3 separate regions of the Homo sapiens genome follow, and regions 1 and 3 are each linked to region 2. Evidence: promoter capture Hi-C in 16 types of primary human blood cells and fetal thymus (Javierre and others, 2016). All regions are on one chromosome and are shown on one strand. Each heading gives the region's core, a stretch centred on a gene start or on the middle of the fragment in contact. The rest is flanking DNA. Distances are from core to core; before and after follow the strand shown.

The links. The method cuts DNA at HindIII sites, captures the fragments that hold promoters and counts their contacts. A CHiCAGO score of 5 or more calls a contact.
Region 1: the fragment with the promoter of LCE2C here is called in contact with the fragment with the promoter of LELP1 in region 2 in 16 of 17 cell types (endothelial precursors, total CD4 T cells, M0 macrophages and 13 more); the score reaches 16.4 in endothelial precursors.
Region 3: the fragment with the promoter of LCE3E here is called in contact with the fragment with the promoter of LELP1 in region 2 in 4 of 17 cell types (M1 macrophages, M2 macrophages, megakaryocytes and 1 more); the score reaches 6.9 in M1 macrophages.

Annotation. Positions count from the first base shown.
Region 1 is chr1:152,672,561-152,676,533 of GRCh38, reverse strand. LCE2C (late cornified envelope 2C) reads right to left here and starts at 1,255. Exons shown (of 2, transcript NM_178429.5): 1 at 1,206-1,255; 2 at 1-539. The coding sequence starts at 518. The coding sequence ends at 186. The HindIII fragment of the contact is 8,836 bases long and covers 1-3,116 here.
Region 2 is chr1:153,201,531-153,204,927 of GRCh38, reverse strand. It overlaps LELP1 (late cornified envelope like proline rich 1), which reads right to left and starts at 1,498. Exons shown (of 2, transcript NM_001010857.3): 1 at 1,397-1,498; 2 at 1-241. The coding sequence starts at 220. It also overlaps a transcript of SPRR2G not described here. The HindIII fragment of the contact is 8,615 bases long and covers 1-2,484 here.
Region 3 is chr1:152,564,805-152,568,292 of GRCh38, reverse strand. It overlaps LCE3E (late cornified envelope 3E), which reads left to right and starts at 1,513. Exons shown (of 2, transcript NM_178435.4): 1 at 1,513-1,555; 2 at 2,064-2,639. The coding sequence starts at 2,085. The coding sequence ends at 2,363. The HindIII fragment of the contact is 4,975 bases long and covers 372-3,488 here.

The sequences.
Region 1 (3,973 bases), core at 6-2,505, 530 kb after region 2:
AAAGGAGGAAAAGAAGACTTGCAATTGGGGTGTTACATCAAGCACGAAGTTCTTCCAGGAAAGCCCCATGAGTCTTTGTGGTCTCTGCCAACCAATGAATGGAATGAGAGGAAGTGGAAAGAGTATCCATCAGGCCGTAGCAGGTTCTTGGCCATTCAGTCCCAAGAGCTCTTCTGTAGCCCAGGTCAGCAGCAGCCCCCAGAGCTGTGGCAGCAGCCAGAGCCCCCAGAAGGTTCACTCTCACAGCAGTCGGGGCTCTGGTGCCGGCGCCGGTGGAAGAGACGGGGCCTGTGGTGGCTCAGGGAGCAGCCACCAGCCCCAGAGCTGCAGCAGCCCCCAGAGCTGGGACCACAGCAGCTCCCAGAGCTGGGACCACAGCAAGAAGAGACTGCAGGGAAACATGGAGCTGGGCACTGTGGTGGGCATTTGGGGGGACACTTAGGTGGACATTTTGGGGTACACTTGGGAGGACACTTGGGAGGGGGCTGGCACTGCTGCTGGTTTTGCTGGCAAGACATGCTGGCAGGAGTTTAGTCAACCTGAAAGATAATAATGAAACTCTTTAAATATTTCAAACCAAGGATCATATTATACCTCTTCTAAAATCAATGCATGTGTAGAAGAAGAATGATATTTAGATAATACAATCACATCAGTAACCTGAAAGAAACAACTTGAATCTTTCCTCTAGATAAAAGTACGTAGATAAAAAATCAACAGAATGAGCTTCTTACTCTTCCTTTCAGGGGAAACTGCGATTGCTCTATCCTCACAAGCCCGAATAGAGTATTCACAGCTCCCTGAAGTACCTATTCCTTTAATACAAGCCCTAAGGACAAGCTGGGTGTTGCAGGACATACCAAGGGGTCCTCTGGAAAATATTTTGCAATGAAACCTCCAGATAAAAGAGCCTGGCTTGAAGTATTTGCCAGTTTCCATGGTGTAAATATGCCCAACACAGCAGTTTTGAAGTTACCAACATGAAGTCACTGAACACAGAATTGGAAAAGATGTGCACAGTTAGCTTTCCCCACCTATATGAGCTCCGGTAGGCCTCAGAGCCTCAACAGATTCGAGGCAGGCTGAGTCCCATTCCTGCTCAGTATGGCAGAACACAAGCACACAACTCTTTCTCCAGCCTACCTCCATCCTCCCCATCCCTCTGCCTTGCTCATACCCCTCTGGTATCCCAGGTTGCCACTCACCCTGGTCACACGCAGGAGCACAGACACGTCCCTGGGGAGTCAGAGCAGATGAGATGCTGAAGCTGGATGTGTCTTTTATAGGGCCCAGGCTTGGCTCTGGAAAGAGCAGGAGGTGGCTCTTGCACAACCAGGCACACGCTGGGTCATTCCTGACATTCTCCTGCCTCTTAGTCCCTGCAATCCAAAGAGGCCTCAGGAGCTTCCAGGACTCCTCTCTGGGGCTGCAGTCTAGAGAGGCTGTAGCCAGTCAGAGCCTCCACCAGGTGGGAACCCTAAAGAGTTAACTTAGGGTACCCAAGGGACCCACACCTGGACAAGATTCTGTTCCCTGCATTTTTTTAATGCATGTCCTCTGAGGAAACATCAGTTCTGAGCCACAGCTTTCCCTGACCTTGTGGAAATGTTCCATTATGACTCCCTCCACCCTGAGCAGTTTCTCTTCCATGTCCTGCTGTGGATCCAGCCATCCCAGAGGGCTTCTACAGCCTTGGCTTTTTCTAGGCATCCCTCCCTTGCCTAGGCTCTCAGCCCTTCCTCCTGGCCTCTGTGTTTCTGCTTTTCCTCCGACTCACCATGGCAAGCAGATTCGGTGGATTAAATCTGAGTTGATTCTGTCACCTAAAGCAAGGAGAATGATTGAGAATAAACAATTCCCTCTAAAATCTAAACATTTCCTTCAGTCAGAGGACTTGTATTGAATGTGCTACTGGAATCAGAAAACTTGCATATGATAACTGGGTAATCTCTGAAAGTTGCTGTAACAATTATCAATAATTGCTAGAGTATTACTATGATACTCACTGTGAGTATCAGTTCTCACATATAATGCCCATTATAAACCTATCAGTGAGATATACCTATCTCACTGAGCTGTTTGTAATATAAAGTGAGAAGCAAGAAAGAGCTAAGTATGACATTTTGTGCCTGATAGACCCTTAATAAATATATGTTTAATAGAAAAACTAATGCCATGTATTGGATACTTGCCCCGGTCTTATGTGTCATTAATTGCCCATATAGAGCCCTTACCCTCAGAGAGCTTAACTCCACCAGACACTTAGATTATTTGAAACCTGTCTTGGGAAGTAGACATCATTTCTTGGGGCTCCTATGCAGAGGGAACTCCTTTCCTACCAGGAAGTAGAGGGTCAGCCAGGAATCTAGTTATTCAGAGTTCTGATTCAGGGTTGCACTAGACAGAGTTACCCAGTCATTTATTCATTTAGTTTAAACAGATACATTGAGTGTGAACCTTGAAAACATTACACTACGTGAAAGAAGCCAGTCACAAAAGACTGCATATTGTATGATGTTATTTATATGAAATGTGTAGAGTAGGCAAATCTCTGGAAATAGAAAGGGGATGAGGCTTTAGCCAGTTACAGCCTCTCCCAGGCTGGACCCCTGAAGAGCTGACTCAGGGCATCCGAGGAACAAGAGCCTGGATGAGATTCTGTTCCCTGTATCTCCTTTTATGTTTATGCCTGTCCTCTGAGAAATATCAGTGGCTTCCAGGTGCTTTAGCGGGCTGGGAGATATTGAGAAGTTACTGCCAATGGATACAGGTTTTCTTTGTGAAGTAATGAAAATGTTCTAAAATTATGGTGGTGATTGTCCAACTCTGTGAATATACTGAAAACCATTGAATTTACACTTTAAACAAATGAACTACAAATATGTTAATTACATCTCAATAAAGGTGTTAAAAATTAGAATTGAAAAAAATAGATATTCACACCTCTGATTAAAACAGAAACAGACTGTGCCTTCACATTGCCTAATGCCTACTTAGTGGGGGAGGGGAGGATGCGGAGAAAGCATAGTTTCCCATTGTCAGCTTCTAACTGAGGGATTCTGTTCTCCTAGTTATGCAATCCTATTATCAGATCTGATTCCTGCTCTCAGGAAGCTTTTACCTGAAGGATAAAGTAAGTCAACAGTGTGGTCAGAGCAGTGAATTCAAAAGGCATTCTTTGAAAGCCTACAACGTTCTTGAATCATGTATGTCCAAATATAGGGATATAGAGGTGAATAATAAGTAGCCCATGACCTCAAGGACTGTAGAATTTTTGTAGCCTTTTTGAAGATGACTGCAGACAAACATAGGTCCAAAGAAGATGACGTTTGGGGCCTGAACCTCCTGAGTCACTATTTCCCAGTGTGATTAGAACATGTTAGTTCATTCCACTGTCTTCATGGTGATATCACCCTCAGCTTCCTCATACTCTTTGACAAAGATATTTGTAACAATGTGGTAAGTGAGGAAGTAGGGGAGGCAAGTCTGTGTCTGTGTGTGTGTGTATGTGGGTGTGTGCTCTGTATGTGTGTATGTTGTATTTATACAAAAATTCAGGTAAAATGAACATGCACATACATGAGCGTCTGTATTGAGTGGTTGAATAAGCGATGGAAGAATTAATGGGACCCGATCCCCTGGGAAACCAGAACTGGGAGATAAGCAGCTGTTTAACATGTCCCCTTTGTCCCTTTATATCTCAGAAAATGTTGATAATTAGTTCACAAGTCAGTGAAGAAACACCTGCCTGCAAGTATTCTTGCTTCTGTCTCCACAGCCCTCACATCATCATAGGTGATCCCTCTGAGCCAGAAGACCCCATGTCACATTGTGCATGTTCCCTCAGGGACCAGCCAAACACTTAATTGTCTCATGAGTGTTGGCAGAATCAATGCATGATTGCAGGACCACATGAACAAGTACACAGGTGACATGAAAAGAATGGCCTGGGATTGATTCCAGACATTTCATC
Region 2 (3,397 bases), core at 249-2,748:
AGGGCTGGGGAGGGCAGGATGAAGGAGACTGCGAGGGGCAGGGCAGGCACTTGGGTGGTGCTGGACACTTTTCCCATGGGCACTTTTCGAAACAGCGTTGCAGCAGCTTCTTTAAACAGCTGGGCTGGCATTTGGACTCACACTTTTGTTCACACTTGGGATCGCAGTTCTTGGGCTCAGTCTTGGGGTCATTTGATTTACTTTTATCATCACTCGACATTGTTTCTTGATTATCTGAGCCCTGCAAAGAAATATGAGATGCATTGTAGGTGGGAGAGGATACCTACAGGCTTCTTACAGCTTATCCTTGTACTTAAGAAAGTCTTCCCTGAGATGCATTCAGGCTCTAGATCATCTTCTCATTTAGGGCCGCCCTCATCCTTGTATGAGTTTGAGATAGCATTTCTTAATCTCTCCACCCTTAACTCTGCTTCCTTTTCACTTATTCTTGCTTCCATGCTATAGACTCTAGTAGGAGTTCTTAACCTATGGTTTTGGACCCCCCACCTCCCCCACCCCACTGAAACTGTATTTCAGTAGAGTTGGTGTCTCTGTAACTCCATATGTTGTATTTAATTCATTTAGAAACATGATTCCAAGGAGTCCCTAAGTTTGACCAGATTGCTCAAGGCATTCATGGCACAATAGAAGTTTCGCTCCTCTAAGGCCACTTCCTGTTCCTCTGAAGATAGATGGGAGGTACACTAGCAGACTTGGGGGCCTAGGACACTGCTTTCAATCCTGTGTCCCACCTAAGTTCCCTGAACCTTGAGAATTGCTTTCTTTACTAGAGGCCATGGGAGGGAAAGTAATTTAATCCCTGCCATGAGTGGGTTCCCATGGGCTACTCTAGAACTGCCCACTCCTTTGTCTCCATCCAGGTTCTGATAAATAATAGGGTAAGGGAAGAAATCAGGAGATGAACCACGAAATTCCAATTTCTCTGAAAATCTGAATGATAGAGCCACAAAATGTGATTTTCAGAAGGGAATTCCTTTTCTCTCCTGTTGAGTTTTGCCCTGAGCTAGGCATTTCTGCACGGACAGTTTAACTCCTAGATATGGACAGGGATTTTCAGTCCCTCACAATACTTCAAGTTGGATCTAATTGGTTATATTTCTTTGATTTCTTTTAACAATATAAAAATAACATTTTAAATTTTGTTTTAAAATCAGTATAGCTCTCTGGGGAGGCATATTATTAAGTTGAACTCTAAAATTGTTGAGACTCTATTCCAAGGTGAAGCACACACCAGTTCTTACCACTGAAAATAACAGGAAACTTTCATTCAAACATGACTTTCCCAACCCTGCTCAGTGCGTGGGGTACTTCAGGTCACTCCCAGGGTAGAAGAGGCCAAAGAGTGGCCACTTCCACCTGTCCAAATGCAACTTACCCCTCTGTGTTGGTGGTGAACTTGACAAGCAGTTGAGTGAGGTGGATGTTATGGCTGTGCCTGGGAAGGTGGCTTTTCCCTTTGGTTCCTCTGCCCAGATCTGAGGAAGCTGGGGGTGGGGGCAGGGGAAATGACCTCCACTTATGAGGTCATTGCAGCATCATCGAGGGGCAATTGTTGTGTGACTCCATAGCTCCCAGCACAACAAGCCCTGAACACCAGAATAGAGCCATGATGAATCACCCCCCTTGGCTGTCCCACCCCTCCCTAGACCCCTCAACATTCAGGCTGGTAAAATGAGGCTGCAGTGAAGAGTCCTGGGCTCTGAGGATGGGAGGCTCATTGTTGCTGGGAGCAGAAAAGCTGGCCCACTGTTGACACATGGTCTCCAGCTCCTCTTCCACCCTCAAAGTTTAATTCCTCTGAACCTGCTCCTTCCCCACCCTTCTAGGAGAGCAACCCTGAATTGATCACTGCCATTTTGACATTCTTCTTTTCTTTATTTTTCTAATGTGAGATTCTGAAACCTCTTCTTACCACCCCACACAATTGGGTTAGCCCCAGATCCTGCCTTAGGGCACAAAGATTTGCCTCTCAGAATTCCTTCCTTGCCTTTTTTAAAGGCCTGACCAGGGTCTTTGTGGTTGGAATGGGGGTGTGTTAGGAGTGGCGATGGGAGGCTGGAGTGCGAAAGGTGGGTAGGCTTAGACACAGGGTGCCTGAACTCAGGTTTAGGAGGTTCATCGTGGCAGTCATCACGAATGAATCTCTAGTGACTTTTGATTAAAATTGTGACATGATTATGCCTAAGGTATTTAAATATTAGGATGGATTGGGAGATGGGGTGGTGAAGTAAAAGTCGAATGAGACTGTTTTAAAGAAATTATGAAAATCTCCACATCTGAAGGAAGGCAGTCATGGGTCTGGGTGCCCATGAGAAAGACCTCATTAGACAGGTAGATTCATGGGACTTATTTACTGACTGTGCAGAAAATTAAGAATTGAAGATGACTCCAGAGCAAAAGGGCTTCTTCCTAGTGTACTAGAAGGCAATACGATGACACCAGGTTTTTGAGAAAAGAAAAGCTTTTTACTGCAACTAGACCATCAAAGAGACAAGAGTTTAGCTTGAATCTGTCTCCCTGTGCTGGCTTTAAGGCAGTCATTTTATTGGGAAAGGTTAGGGATTAGATTCTGGTATTAGTAGGTGACTGGTGGAAGGAAAAGGGAGGGCTGGAAAAAGTCCTCGGGCATGGGAAGTTATCTCTTCATGCTACCTCATGGGTCACATGTGCAGTTTCGGGGAGGGTCAGTATGAAACATGCAGTGGAAATTTGGCTGTGACATCAGCACGCTTTTTCTGTGCAGACTCCAGTCTGCCAGATTGGCTCCAATGACTTCAGCCAATTTTGTTATCTTACAAATGGAGAGAGTTTCAGCATTTCAGCAAGTTGTTCTTTTTTTAAAATCTACTATCATGTAAACTCAAGAATTTGTATTAGTCACTCGTTTGTTTAACTCTTTGGGACAATGTTTCACCAGGTTTTGGGGTGTTAGTATTACTTTTAATGAGAGCTGAGGAAACAGGGGAACAGATTTGTGCTAAAAGAATATGGGTTTAAGTCTGAGAAGAGTTTAGTTAGAGTCAACCCTCTTGGGTGGTTATTGGAAATATGGCTTTGGCCCTTGGGCCACTGGGGAGACCTGAGGCCTTCAGTTCATTTCAGTTTAACAAGTGTTTATTGAATAGAAGATCATGAGTTGAAGATGGAGAAACCTCATATGGGGTTTATTCACAAGGATAAATAATGCCATATTCAATTAAACCTCAAATGAACCTAAATAAAAGAGGAGAATGGGTTGGGATTTAACCCCCTATCACTGGAATAATTGGCGATAGAGTCATAGTCTTTGTGCAGCTCACTCCTTTCATAAGAATTTCCTCTTTCTTCCATAATATTGTTCATCAGCTCTCTCTCCTCAAAGCTGTTGAGAAGCAGC
Region 3 (3,488 bases), core at 264-2,763, 640 kb after region 2:
AAAGGCTAAGACTGGCAAAATGGATAAAATAGCATGAACTAACTATATGCTATCTATAAGACACACATTTTAGGCTCAAAGACAAAATAGATTCAAAGTAAAAGGTAGAAAAACATACACCATGCAATGGTAATCAAGAGATCTGGAGTGGCTATACAATACTGGACGAAATAGACTTTAAGACGAAATTAATGGCAGAGACAAAGAGGACATTTTATAATGACAAAAGGATCCATATCTATTAAAGAAATAATTATTATACATATATATGCACCTAACAATGGAGTCCCATATTACATGTAACAAAGACTAACAAAATTGAAGGGAGAAACAGACAACTCATAAACAATTTAACAATAATACTTGAAGCTTTCATACTCCACTTTCATTAATGGAAGAACAACTAGGAAGAAAATCAACAAACTGAAGACTTTAACAACACTATAAACCAATTAAATCTAACAGACATCTTGTTGAACACTCCAACCACAATAGCAGAATACACATTTTTCTCAATTGCACATGGAACATTCTGCAGGGTAGACCATTTGTTGGGTCATAAAAGAAGTATCATTAAATTTTAAAACACTGAAATCATACAAAGTATCATCCGTAACCACAGGAGAATGAAACTAGAAATCAATAACAGAAGGAAAACTGGAAAATTCAGAAATGTCTTAAGCAACCAATGAGTTCAGAAAGAAATCACAAGGAGAATTAGAAAATACTTTGAGATGAATGAAAATAAAAATACAACATACCAAAAATTATGGGATACAGCAAAGGAAATGCTTACAGGGAAATACATGGCTGCAAATGCCTACATTAAGGAAGAAGAAAAATCTCAAATCAATTACCTAACCTTCTGCCTTAAAACACTGAAAAAAAGAAGAAACTAAACATAAAGCAGGAGGAAGGAAATAATAAAGATTAAGTTTGTAGCTGCATTATTCACAATAACCAAAAATTGGAGCTAACTCAAATGTCCATCACTTGATGAATGGTTAAATAAAACGTGCTAAATTCATAAAGTGAAATATTACTCAACCATAAAGAAGAATGGAGTTCTGACACATGCTACAGCATGGATAAATCTTAAACAATATATTAAGTGAAAGAAGCTAATGCAAAATGCCATATATTATATGATTCTATTTATATGAAGTGTCCAGAATAGGCAAGTCCATACAGGCAAAAAATTGATTACTAGTTGCCAGAGGGGCAATGTGGAATAAGGAGTGACTACTAATGAGTGGTGATAAAAACAATTGCTTCAAGGAAGGTAGGATTGCAACCCCCAGCAGGCCTGAATGAGGTGAAGGTAAACAGGCGTCAGACCTTCCTGGTTCCCTCTTGTCAGGCATCTTGGTGAGTACACAGGAAGGTGATGAATGGATAGTCTCAAGGGTGTGCCTGGCTGTCACCTCCCCTGGTTGTGAAAGCAGCAGCATGCCCAGCCTGTGCATCACACACCCTGCACAGGATAAAAGCACTCCTGCCCTGGGCTCCTCCACAGTCTCCTCAGGAACAGCCTTCTCCTGCCTCTCTGCACCTGGTAAGTATTCAGCAGGGGACAGGGCTTGATATGGGATGTTAGAACAGAAAGCTAAGGCCATAGCAGAAGAGATGGAAACAGAGAGGTTTGAAACAAAGACCCAGATACAGGACTGTGAGAGGGCAGCAATGGGGGAAGGGGGCAGGAGGGAGACCCTGCAGGAACTGACAGCAATTCCATGACCTGCAAAGGCCACAGAGCTCACAATTCCCTCCCATCCTCTTTCTACTCAGGCAGGCACATTTCCTGTAACATCCATTCTACAGAATTCTTTTTCCCAAAAGGGTGCATTCCCTAGGGGTTCTTTGGAGAAACAGAAACACACGTGCCCACTTAGACTCACAGCAATCTGTCCCGGGTGGAGAGCAATGTGAGAAGTATCTGGCATATCCCACCAGCTCCACATCAGCTTCCCTCACCCTCTTGCAGCTCTTGCCTCAGGAGGCAGCTGGTCTTAGAGACGTTGGACTGTAGATTTTGAACTAAGAAGTGGCTTCGTTTTCTCCAGGACATCTCAACTCCTGCCAAGATGTCCTGCCAGCAGAACCAGAAGCAGTGCCAACCCCCACCCAAGTGCCCCTCACCCAAGTGTCCCCCAAAGAACCCAGTACAGTGTCTGCCTCCAGCTTCCTCTGGCTGTGCCCCAAGCTCTGGGGGCTGTGGCCCTAGCTCCGAGGGCGGCTGCTTCCTGAACCACCACAGGCGCCACCACCGATGCCGGCGCCAGAGGTCCAACTCCTGTGACAGGGGCAGTGGTCAGCAAGGCGGGGGCTCTGGCTGCTGCCACGGTTCTGGGGGCTGCTGCTGATCCAGATCCTGATGCTGAGACAAGCGATCTTTGGAGGAAACAAGAATCCCAAGAGGCCAAGAACAGCCCCATCTGACGCATGCCTTCCCATATACCCTCTTCTGACTTTCACAGGCTGAGCTGGAGGTTTTCCTGTGGGGGATCTGAGCTCTCCCCAGAAGGCACTTCTTGTTTTATGTACAGGATGTCATATGTCCCCCTACCCCTGTACCTGCCAAGGATTGGCAGTGCTTGTGCCCAACCTCGTAAAAAAGATAAAGTTCCTTGTCCTCATTACCACCAGCGTCCCACTGGGCATTTCACAGTCTCTCTCCTCAGCTCTTTGGTCAGTACAACCCAGCTCAGGAGCCAAACCTTATCTCTGCACCAGGAAAACATAGTGGATCCGACCCCGCTCCACTGATGGAAGGGAAGGGGAGAGTTTTATGTTGTAGTGGGAGGGAGAGAACGACACAGGTTGTGCTGGTTTGAGGCCCTGAAACTCAACCTCAAACTCAAAGAGGGTATCAGTGCAAAAATTGACTTTTCCTGTAAAATCTGAGAGGACATTAATACAATTGGGGAATTTCCAGTGTATGACAGAAGACCACTAGTTTGTTTTGATGAGCTGTTTCTGGAGTGCTAACTAAGAAACCGGAAATCAAAAGGCAAAAAAGCAGAAAATAGGCAGAAGAGAAGCAGAATCAAAAGATGGAGGGAAGAGATGTAAGCCTTGGGAAGAAGTATAACTCAGTGACTGAAAATCCAGGGAGAGAGATGAAAGCTGAGAGAGGTGCTTAAATTAATGAGATAATGGAGCAGAGATGTGGCTGGGAGTTTACTCAATGAGATTATTGGAATGTGCAAAATGAGAATTTTAGGAAAAAGAAAAAGGCAGAAAATGAGAAGTGTTCCTGGAATTATAAATAGATATACCAAAGAAGCAACAAATTATTAATTTTGTAACTACACGACCTTGACATCAACACATGGAAGTTACAACTTCAATGGAGTCACATGTTTTGGCCTAAATTGTGAGACTGAGATGCTCCTGGGGTTGAAGGAATGTTTTTTTATGTGAACTAAGAGTAACATCTCACTTTGACTACCAGAAAACCAGAGAAGTGTCACGTAGAGCTACAGTCA